3 separate regions of the Homo sapiens genome follow, and all the other regions are linked to region 2. The links are contacts of gene promoters, found by promoter capture Hi-C in blood cells and fetal thymus (Javierre and others, 2016). All regions are on one chromosome and are shown on one strand. Each heading gives the region's core, a stretch centred on a gene start or on the middle of the fragment in contact. The rest is flanking DNA. Distances are from core to core; before and after follow the strand shown. Region 1 overlaps ATF2 (activating transcription factor 2). Region 2 holds the start of GPR155 (G protein-coupled receptor 155). Region 3 overlaps ATF2 (activating transcription factor 2).

Region 1 (3,263 bases), core at 211-2,710, 650 kb before region 2:
CAACTCTTTGGTTACTGGAAATACATTTTATGCACAAAAGGCAGATTAAACACACTGATCTTTTTTCTTTCTTTCTTTTTTTTTTTTTTTTAAACCAGTTTTCAGATGAGTGCATTTTCTTAGTTGTTGGGTTGTATGACTTGTCTGTCAAGCCCTTACTGGTTTGCTGTATGCCAGGCTTTTCTTTCAATCTCTTACTCCACTTCTACTTAGAGTCCTGTGAAAATCAGTCGTTTTTTTTAGATATACAGTTGTTCCTCAATATCTGTGGGTGATTGGATCCAGGATCTCCTGAAGATACCAAAATTTGAGGATGCTCCAGTTACTTATATAAAATCGTGTAATATTTGTGTATCACCTATGCACATCCTCCCGTATACTTTAAATCATCTCTAGATTACTTTTAATACCTACTACAATGCATATGCTGTGTGAATAGTTGTTACACTATATTGTTTAGGTAATAATGACAAGAAAAAAAGTCTGTACATGTTTAGTACAGATGCAGTTTTTTCTCACATATTTTTGATCCAAGATTGATTGAATCCATGGATGCAAAACTCATAGATACAGAGGGCTGACTGTACATATTCTTTTATTTTTAATTATTTTTTATAGTTTGTGTCCTTCTCAAAGCTTCTGTAAGGTTTCCTGGAACACACTGTCTCTGGATGTAGTTACCTGTATAATTTTTGTCTTTTTCCTAGTATTAGGTTAAATAACTGTTTGCTCCTTTTTTGCTTTTTATTGAGGTATAATTTAAACAGAATAAAATGCACTATGTAGAGTAAAATCTGTTTTATCAATCTTTTCTTTTATGGACCTTTTGTGTCCTGTTTAACCTTTGCCTACTCCAAAATCATGAAGATTCTTTCCTATTTTTCTTCTAGAAACTTATGCTTTGCCTTTCACTTTTAGGTCTATGATCTACTGTGACTTAATTTTTAGTATAATGTGAGATAGAATTCATGGGGCATTTTTTAAAGTTATGAATCCTTAATTGACATAACATTAAGGTCACGAAAAGTCCTGTGAAATGAAGCCTACACATTCAACATTTCCCAAATTTATTTGGCTAAAAATCTTTTTTCCATGATAGCTACCATGCTTTGGGAAACATTGATCTAAAGCACTGATAAACTACTGTTGTCAAGGGAATATTACATAATTATTATTAGTTGAGTCAAGTACTCTTGCTATATAAAATTTCTAGAACCAATTATTGAAAAGACCATCCTTTTCCCACTTAACTGCAGTTGAGCATTTGTACAAATCAGGTAGCCTTATGTGTGGTTCCATTTCTGTACTCCTTCTTTTCCATTTCTTTGTATGTTTATCATTGGACTGATACCACAGTGTCTTAATTATTGTAATTTTATAATGGGTCATGATATCTGGTAATAAAAGTCCTCTAGCTTAATTACAATTCTTCATGACTGCCTTGTTTATTCATTGTCTTTTGCATTTTGTTACAGATTTTTCAGTTTCTACACATACATAAAAGCACTGGGATTTATTTTATTTATTTATTTTTTTTTTTTTTGAGACAGAGTCTCACTCTGTTGCCCAGGCTGGAGTGCAGTGGTACAGTCTCAGCTCACTGCAACCTCTACCTCCCCAGGTTCAAGTGATTCTCATGCCTCAGCCTCTCTCAAGTAGCTGGGACTACAGGTGTGTGCCACCATGCCCAGCTTATTTTTTAATTTTTAGTAGAGACAGGGTTTCACCATGTTGGCCAGGCTTGTCTCGAACTTCTGACCTTAAGTGATCCACCTGCCTCAGCCTCCCAGAGTGCTGGGATTGCAGGCATGAGCCACCACACCTGGCTGAAGAACAAAACTGATATAATAATTTTGGTTTGTATCTATTTAAAGATACTGAATTCATTACTTAAAACCACCCAGAAGAGAAACCTCCAGGCTCAGATAGCTTCACTGGTGAATTCTTCCAACATTTAAGGAAGAATTAGTACCTATCTTATGCAGATTTTTCTAGAGAATGGAAAAGAATTAACATGACCCAATTCTTATAAAGCCACTGAACTTAGATACCTGGCAAGGTTATTTCTTATGACATAGATTGTAAACATCTTAAAATACGAGCAAAAGGGAGGATTTATTTAAGAAATTCTGGTTTGTTTGTTCAACATTCAGTGTGATATACCACATTAAAACAATAAGAGAAAAAAATAGTATCTGAATAGATGCAGAAAAAGCATTTGATAAAGCTCAATGTCTACTCATCATTAAAACTCGCAGGAAACTAGAAATTGGAGGAAGCTTTCTTAATCTGATAAAGAGTATCCGAAAAAAATCTGCAGCATCTGCTTTCTCCCTGAGATTTACGTGTATTTTTAAGACTAGCATCTGCACAGTGCAATAAAGCTAAGCACAATAAAATGAGATATGCCTGTACCAGGAATTCTCATAATGTGAGAGCGGTCTGTGAAGTCAAAAACATTTTTATAATAATACTAAAATATTTACCTTTTTAAAATTCTCATTATCTCACAAGGATTTGATGCCATTTTCTAGAGGATACATGATGATATCACAACAGGTTGAATACCAGAAGCACATAGGAGAATTCAGCTGTGTTATACTCTGTTAAGCCAGATGTTAAGGATTTGCAAAAAGTGGGAAATAATGCCTTTCTCACTAAATTTTTTGTTTTGAAAATATATTGTTTTAAAAAATATGTGTTAACATGCAGTGAGTTCATTGTTATTTTTAAATCATAAATTAATATTTTTAGAATTTCTCAGTTTTAATTTCTGATGTGGTCAGTATTGATAGTACATAAACAAAAACGTTCTTTGGGAGCCTAAATTTTTAAGAGTGTAGAGGATCCTGTTTGAGAACTGCGGTGCCATACTGTTCTCACTCATTATTTAGTAAGTTTTACTAGTGGTCAGTTACAGCCAATCTTGTTAGAATACTTTGCTCTTACTTAAAAATTTATATATCAGTATTCCTTAGTTTGTAAACATTTAAGAAGCACTAGAAGGATAATATGTTATTTAGATAAATCGCAGATATCATGAGGAGGTGTTCCAAATTTAGTTATAAAATAGCTTATAATGCTCACAGATTGTGTAGGTCAAAAATTTGTACAGGGTACAAGAAAATGGCTTGTCTCTGCTTTTTGTCTCTGCCTAGTACTGGCACCAGCAGCAGGCATTTGCTATTAATAAACTGTGATTCTCAGTGTCTGCCTCAGTCTTAACTTTTCAGGGCACTGCCCTTTGACCTCATTTCTCTGAT
Region 2 (3,441 bases), core at 289-2,788:
ATGGCCGAGATGATAGGAAGACACGGAAATTGCCATACAGAAATGTTTAAGATGCAAAGCAAGATAAAAGGTTGTAAACAAATGCTTGTAGATATCTTAAGTGGAAACATATATAAATATTTTAAAATTTGAAATAATTTTTATTTCAAAAGGCTAACTCAATTGCAGGATTTCTTCAGGTTTCAAAGTGGAGCACCATATTTGGGATACTATATATAGGTTTGTTGTCTGATGCCCATGGCAAGTTAATACACTGGGACACCAGGTTGCAGAAGAGAAAGAGGTTTAATCATAGGGCCACCAAACACAGATAGGAGGAAACCTCAAATTCGTCTCCAGGAGGACTTTGAGTCTCAGGTTCTTAAGGGTTTTAGAGTGGTCCCAAGTGTGGAGATCATTAATTGGCTGAAGAGTACAGGGCGAAGTCATGGGACAGCGAGATGAAGAAGCTGTATTCTCATGCTGATTCCCTTCTTCTGTGGCAGGGGTCTTCAAGCTGGCTGGCATCAGCTGTTTCGCTGGAATTTGGCGTCTGAAAAACATTTTAAGCAATTCTTAAAAAGCCTTACGACTCTTAACATCAGAAAGCCTATCTATAGGGACAACGGGATACAAATGTACTATCTAGCTCTACCCGACTTTCGGGTTACAAGGAAGTGGGTCAAAGTGTAGCCTGATTAATGCTTAATTATATTTTTGTCCAGAATTCTTATAAACCCTGTGAGGATAGTTTCAATACCTTTATTTCAAGAAGCTTTGGAAGTTTTCCATCAATGTAACCAGTTTCAGTATACTGAGTGGACATGCATGTAGTTCCCCACCCCCACCCCACCCCCGTACCGCAATAGAATAGAAGCAGTCATGGACGGGGCCCAGATTCTAAAACAAGCTCAGGGCTAAGGGTTTACATTTTAATCTCTTATGTAGGAACGTCAAGGTCACACTGCCTTGGTGAAGGTGGAAGGCAGGATTTTGACCCAGGTCTGATTCTAAGCCCTTGCTTTAAAACTCTATGCTATAAAAAGTCCTGGGCTAACCGGGAGCGAAACTGGCAGATCACACGAGGTTGAGGTTAAGCGGAAAGACAAGTCTGCTCTGCGTCTGTACTTGGGAAGAGGAAAAAAAACTGGACATCCCCCACGGCGGCTACCATTTTGTGGGAGCAGGGAAGCCGGAAGTCCCGCCCCGGAGGATCGCGGCTGGGAGGCTCCCAGCCGGCAGGGCGGGGCCGGGTACCCTGGGGCTCCGAGGCTGGAGGAGGGGGCGGGGACTGAAGGCGGGGTTGGGGAACGTGTGGCTCGGAGGCCCGAGGCTGTGGGTGGGGCCTGAGGGCGGGACGGAGACTCTGGGCTCAAGGCTCCTGGAAATGGGCGGGGCTCGAGGGCGGGAAGCGGCCCGTCTTGCTGGAAGTTCGGGGCTGGGGGCGGGGTCTGAAGGCGGGGCTGGGAGGGAGCGGGGCCTGAAGGCGGGGCGGGGGCGGGGCCTCGCGGCCGGCGAGGGGCTGAGCTGACAGGGCCGCATCGGCTTACCCCACCTTACTTTATCGGAACGTGCCTAAGCTGCTGCAGCTGGCACCCGGTTGCGCTCGGCGAAGAGGGCTGGGGGCGGGAGATGACGGTGGTCTTCTCCCTGCTTGGCACCCTGCGAGCACCAGCTCCCTTCTCCTCGCCACTCCAAGGTTGCAGACGAAGCAGGTGAGAGGGGCCCCTGGAGCGCGGACCTGCTGGGTCCTGGTTCTCCCTTGCGGGCACGGGGTACCCCTGCCTCTGCCCCTCAGGCCTGGGCACGTGGGCAGCCGCCGACCCTCTGCGCCCTGGCCCCGCGGCCCGTTGTCTGGACCTGCTGTCTCTGCCCCGCAGCGCCTGCCTGTGGAACGTGTGAGATCACCCGGGAAGGCTCGCGCGGGGGAGGGGGTGTCTCGTCCCCTCCGGAGACAGAACTGCCATCCCTAGTTTGGGAAGCTCCTCACTGCACGGGCGTCCACCCTGTCTTTCTTAGACTCTTCCCTTTATCCCGAGGGTACCCTCAGTATCTGGCCCTTCCGAAGGCTTCTGCCCAGGCACCTGGAGCACTGCGCCAAATTTTCTCCCTTACCCGTTTTTGGGGTATGTTAGTTACCATGACGTTGTGACTCCCGTGCCCTGGGAAGACTAGCGACCACCTTTTTCTTACGCCAGGCAAAGACCCCTGGCTGCCTTTCCACTTCCACAGCTGCCTTCCCAGGGGTTGGCTGGCAGCTGCTCTCCGAGCAGCCTATTCGGTTAGGAACTCTCTGCGCCCCTTATCTTGGAGGGCCACAGTCTGTCCCTGCAGACGAGGCAAGGAGGCAGTGCTCAGCGCTCCCTACCCTGGGTCTCTAGGGAGGACATTTGGCGCCCTGCAAGTAGGTAGGAGTGGGTGAATGGTGCGACTATTAATGTTGAAGAGTGCTCTAATAGTACCACACTGTATTACACTTATCCCACGGGATAAAGGATGTTGGATGTTTGAGAAATAGCCTGAGAGTTTAAAGCTTTCTCTATGAAGTTAGTCAACCCTCGCCTTCCCCCCGCATTTTCACTTAATAGCAGTTATTTACAGTATCAGTGGTTCGTTTATGTGATCTAAGCCAAATGTGATGTGGCTAGAAGCGGTTTGTAAGTACAGTAGCATTTCTTCAGTTCGTGCCTCAGCGAGTGGTCTTTTACTGTGAACGTGTTTGTTCTGTAACAAGCTTTGTTTTTATAGATAAAAAGGCTGGATGTAATTTTTTTTTTAAAACTTCCCTTGCTGTGGTTCCTGTTCATTTTAAAATATGCTTTAGAAAGCATATTATCTTCCCGTTTAAAAAAGATTAGGATGAAATGAAACTTTTAAAGTCATTTTGATTATTTTGACTTTACCTCAGCAGGTATTTCTTTTATAATACTGAGAAACGTTAAAAGAAACCTCATGGGGAGGGGCAGATTGCTTTTTTTTTTTTTTTTTCTTGAGACGGAGTCTTGCTCTGTTGCTCAGGCTGGAGGGCAATGGCAGGATCTCGGCTCACTGCAACCTCTGCCTCCCGGGTGCAAGAGATTCTCCTGCCTCAGCTTCCCGAGTAGCTGGGATTACAGGCATCTGCCACCAAGCCCGGCTAATTTTTGTCTTTTTAGTAGAGACAGGGTTTCACCATGCTGGCCAGGCTGGTCTCCAACTCCCGACCTCAGGTGATCCGCCCGCCTCGACCTCCCAGAGTGCTGGGATTACAGGCGTGAGCCACTGCGCCCGGCCCTTTTTTTTGTTTTGTTTTTTTGTTTTTTAATTTTTCAACGAATTGAAAGTTAATCTTGGACATTGCTACAACTATTTGACCATCACCCTGAGAAAAATGAAGAGCTCTGCCTTCACTGTTAACCATTTACTATCAAACCAAATTAAATTCAACTTATCTTAATTGTTTGGTATAAAACAAAAACTGAT
Region 3 (3,427 bases), core at 440-2,939, 680 kb before region 2:
GATTACAGGCGTGAGCCACTACACTAGGCCTATTTTTACACATTATTTTATAATATAAATATATTTAATGTTACATATTATATAAATATAAATAAATATGTATTCATTATATGTGTCTTTTCAATTTGTTGAGACTTTTTGACAACCTTGAAACTGGTGTATTCATTTTCACTTTTAAGGCATTACAGGCATGAGCCACTGCACCCGGGCCTATTTTTACACATTGTGTTACAGGTGTATTTAATGTTACATATTATATAATTATAAATAAATATGTATTCATTATATATATCTTTTCAATTTATTCTTGTTGGCAACCTTGAAACTAGTGTATTCATTTTCACTTTTCTTTTTTTTTTTTTTGAGACGGAGTTGCTATGTCACCCAGGCTGGAGTGCAGTGCCGCTCTCAGCTCATTGTAACCTCTGCCTCCCAGGTTCAAGTGATTCTCCTGCCTCAGCCTCCTGAGTAGCTGGGATTACAGGTGCCCGCCACCACACCTGGCTAATTTTTGTATTTTTAATAGAAACGGGGTTTCACCATGTTGGCCAGGCTGGTCTCGAACCTGCCTCGGCCTCCCAAAGTGTTGGAATTACAGGCATGAGCCACCACCCAGCATCATTTTTCATTTTTTAAGTATGTTTATTGATTTTTTTTCCTTGGCATTTTGACATTGACAGTAAAGAAGAGATGTAAACAATGTTTTGGGGGCTTTGCCTATTCACCCATATTTGCATTCTGTATCTTAACAAAGATAGTGGTTCTCAGCCACTTTTTTGCCTTTCTACCCAAGGAATACAAAATACTTCCAACAGTAGTAGTGGCTTATTACCACAGAGATTCTCAACAAGACTGGTAGGGAAAGACAGGGAGAAATAATTGTAATTGGCAAAATACCATATGGACTTTGGTTATTTTTGTAATATATAGTATTTTTATCTATAATATTGACCATAAGTTTATAAATATATTCCCTAAATATTCTTTAGTTTGCTAGCAGAACCGAAACCTTTGTCATTCTAATTTTTTTAGCTTTGCTCCAATGTTATAGCTTTGGTTTTTCTAATTTTACTGTTCGGGCTAGTATGTTTGCTTGCATTTATTTATTTATTTATTTATTTATTTATTTATTTATTTATTTATTTTTTGAGACAGAGTCTCGCTCTGTTGCCCAGGCTGGAGTGCAGTGGCACGATCTTGGCTCACTGCAAGCTCCGCCTCCCAGGTTCATGCCATTCTCCTGCCTCAGCCTCCCAAGTAGCTGGGACTACAGGCACCCACCACCACGCCCGGCAAATTTTTTAATATTTTTAGTAGAGACGGGGTTTCACCGTGTTAGCTAGGATGGTCTCGATCTTCTGACCTTGTGATCCGCCCACCTCGGCCTCCCAAAGTGCTGGGATTACAGGCATGAGCCACTGCACCCAGCCTGCTTTTATTTATTAAACGTGTCGGAACAATTTTTTTATATATCAACTTGTTTTGCCATACTAACAAATAATTGTGTTCATTATTTTTGTTTTCTTCTAGTTTGTGCATATATATTGCAGTTTTTACAGAATTATATCAAATAAGTTTTATTTTACTTTTATAGCATTGTATTTTTCCATGTTGTATAACCTTTATGATATTTGATTGTTACTTGATAGTTGAAAAATAAGTATTAAATTTGTTCTAAATGCCTGACAGGAAAATAATAGTTTTCAGTTTATGCCTATTTTGACATTGAATTGAACATCTCTGTGCATTTTTTCTTTTATGAATTGTTTCTATAGGATACTAATCTCAAATGAATTACTAGTCAAAGGATATAAATGTTTCTACAGTTGCCAGATTTTTGCCTCCCCAAAGACTTGAGCGAGTTTACACTGTCAGCAGAGCATGAATGCGTTAGCTTTGCCATACTTTTGTGAACTTGGGAGTTATGATTAATGAAGCGTGATTACCTAATTGGGAATTATTTCTGGGAATAAGTTGTATTATTTAGCAGTTTTAAAATTATTTAGTTGGCCATATCATACTATAGTTATTTATCTACCAGTGATCTATGTGATGTGACAAATATTGTGTATTTCATATTTTCTGACATTTTACTGTCTTTGTTTCTTTTAAAGTTTACCAAAACTTTTGACAGACTGGTAACAATAATTCTTAGATTTCATGCAGTTTTATGTGGTTTGTACACTGAGTATTTTAATGCTAGTTTAAGAGTTAATTTCTGGGCTGGGCATGGTGGCTCATGCCTGTAATCCCACCATTTTGGGAGGCCTAGGCAGGTGGATCACCTGAGGTCAGGAGTTCGAGACCAGCCTGGCCAATGTGAGAAAACACCATCTCTACTAAAAATACAAAAATTAGCTGGGCATGATGGCGGGTGCCTGTAATCTCAGCTACTCGGGAGACTGAGGCAGGAGAATTGCTCGAACCTGGGAGGCAGAGGTTGCAGTGAGCCAAGATCACGCCAGTGCACTCTATCCTGGGCAACAGAGCGAGACGGTGTCTCAAAAAAAAAAAAAAAGAGTTACTTTCTGAACTATACATTTCATAGTTCTGTCTTATGAATGTGTCATTATGATTTATTAAGATTTATAATGACAAATTCATTTCCATGTAGGAAACACTTGGAATAAAGAAAGTGTATATGAGTATATGATAGCCAAATTGACTGAGTTTTGTCCCTGGCACATAGTTAAGTGTGTAATCAATATTTTAGGATAGTTATTAGAAGCCAGATTATCAGGGGTCTACCACTTACTGTGTTATCTTGAGTAAATTATATAACCTCTCTGCCTCAGTTTCCTTCTCTTTAAGGAGAATAATTTAACTCATAGTCTTGCTGTGAGCATTCATGTGATATATATACAATACTTAATACAGTGTCAAGAACTTAATGAGTACTCAGTTTGTGTTGTGGGAATTATTATTGAAGTTCATTCAGAAATAATCTAGCCTAGCCCTCCAGGCATGCTTGTGCTGTAGCTTGAAAGCAGTACAGCAACCATCTACTTGGTAGCTTTGGCAACAAAGTTATTTTTCCCTAAGAATTTATAATTTGTGGAGGAACATGCCACCTTAGAATTTTCGTAAATTCATTTGAGAGAATGTCTCATATTTTTTTGTTCCATATGTACCCCTTCTCAGACATTTTCTGTATCAAATTCCTTCAGTATAGCATATCCTTATTTTAAGATGATAAAATTATGATACTGTGATTTTCATAAAATCCAATTATCTTTGTATTTTTGAGACAAAGTCTTACTCTGTCATGCAGGTTGGAGTGCAGTGATGCGACTAAGTCTCACTGCGGCTTCCACCTCTGGGGCTCGAGAGATCTTCCCACCTAAGCCTCCCAAATAGCTGGGACCACACTCACATGCCACCACACTCAGCTAGTTTTTAAATTTTTGTAGAGATGGGGTCTTGCCGT

Evidence for each region. Contacts are between HindIII fragments. The CHiCAGO score rates a contact against its expected background, and 5 or more counts as called.
Region 1: a fragment that was not itself captured here is called in contact with the fragment with the promoter of GPR155 in region 2 in 1 of 17 cell types (naive CD8 T cells); the score reaches 5.3 in naive CD8 T cells.
Region 3: a fragment that was not itself captured here is called in contact with the fragment with the promoter of GPR155 in region 2 in 4 of 17 cell types (naive CD4 T cells, non-activated CD4 T cells, naive CD8 T cells and 1 more); the score reaches 7.8 in naive CD4 T cells.

The regions. Positions count from the first base shown.
Region 1 is chr2:175,131,369-175,134,631 of GRCh38, reverse strand. All of the region lies in intron 3 of ATF2 (activating transcription factor 2), which reads left to right. Among named protein-coding and RNA genes, the nearest start is that of MIR933, 35 kb to the left of the region's middle. The HindIII fragment of the contact is 1,643 bases long and covers 639-2,281 here.
Region 2 is chr2:174,485,126-174,488,566 of GRCh38, reverse strand. GPR155 (G protein-coupled receptor 155) reads left to right here and starts at 1,538. Exons shown (of 16, transcript NM_152529.7): 1 at 1,538-1,694. GPR155-DT (GPR155 divergent transcript) reads right to left here and starts at 1,179. Exons shown (of 3, transcript NR_183819.1): 1 at 1,151-1,179; 2 at 1-532. RefSeq lists silencers at 1,398-1,577, 1,841-2,023 and an enhancer at 1,918-1,987. The HindIII fragment of the contact is 1,758 bases long and covers 757-2,514 here.
Region 3 is chr2:175,160,855-175,164,281 of GRCh38, reverse strand. The region is part of intron 1 of ATF2 (activating transcription factor 2); the gene reads left to right. Among named protein-coding and RNA genes, the nearest start is that of MIR933, 5.1 kb to the left of the region's middle. The HindIII fragment of the contact is 8,086 bases long and covers 1-3,427 here.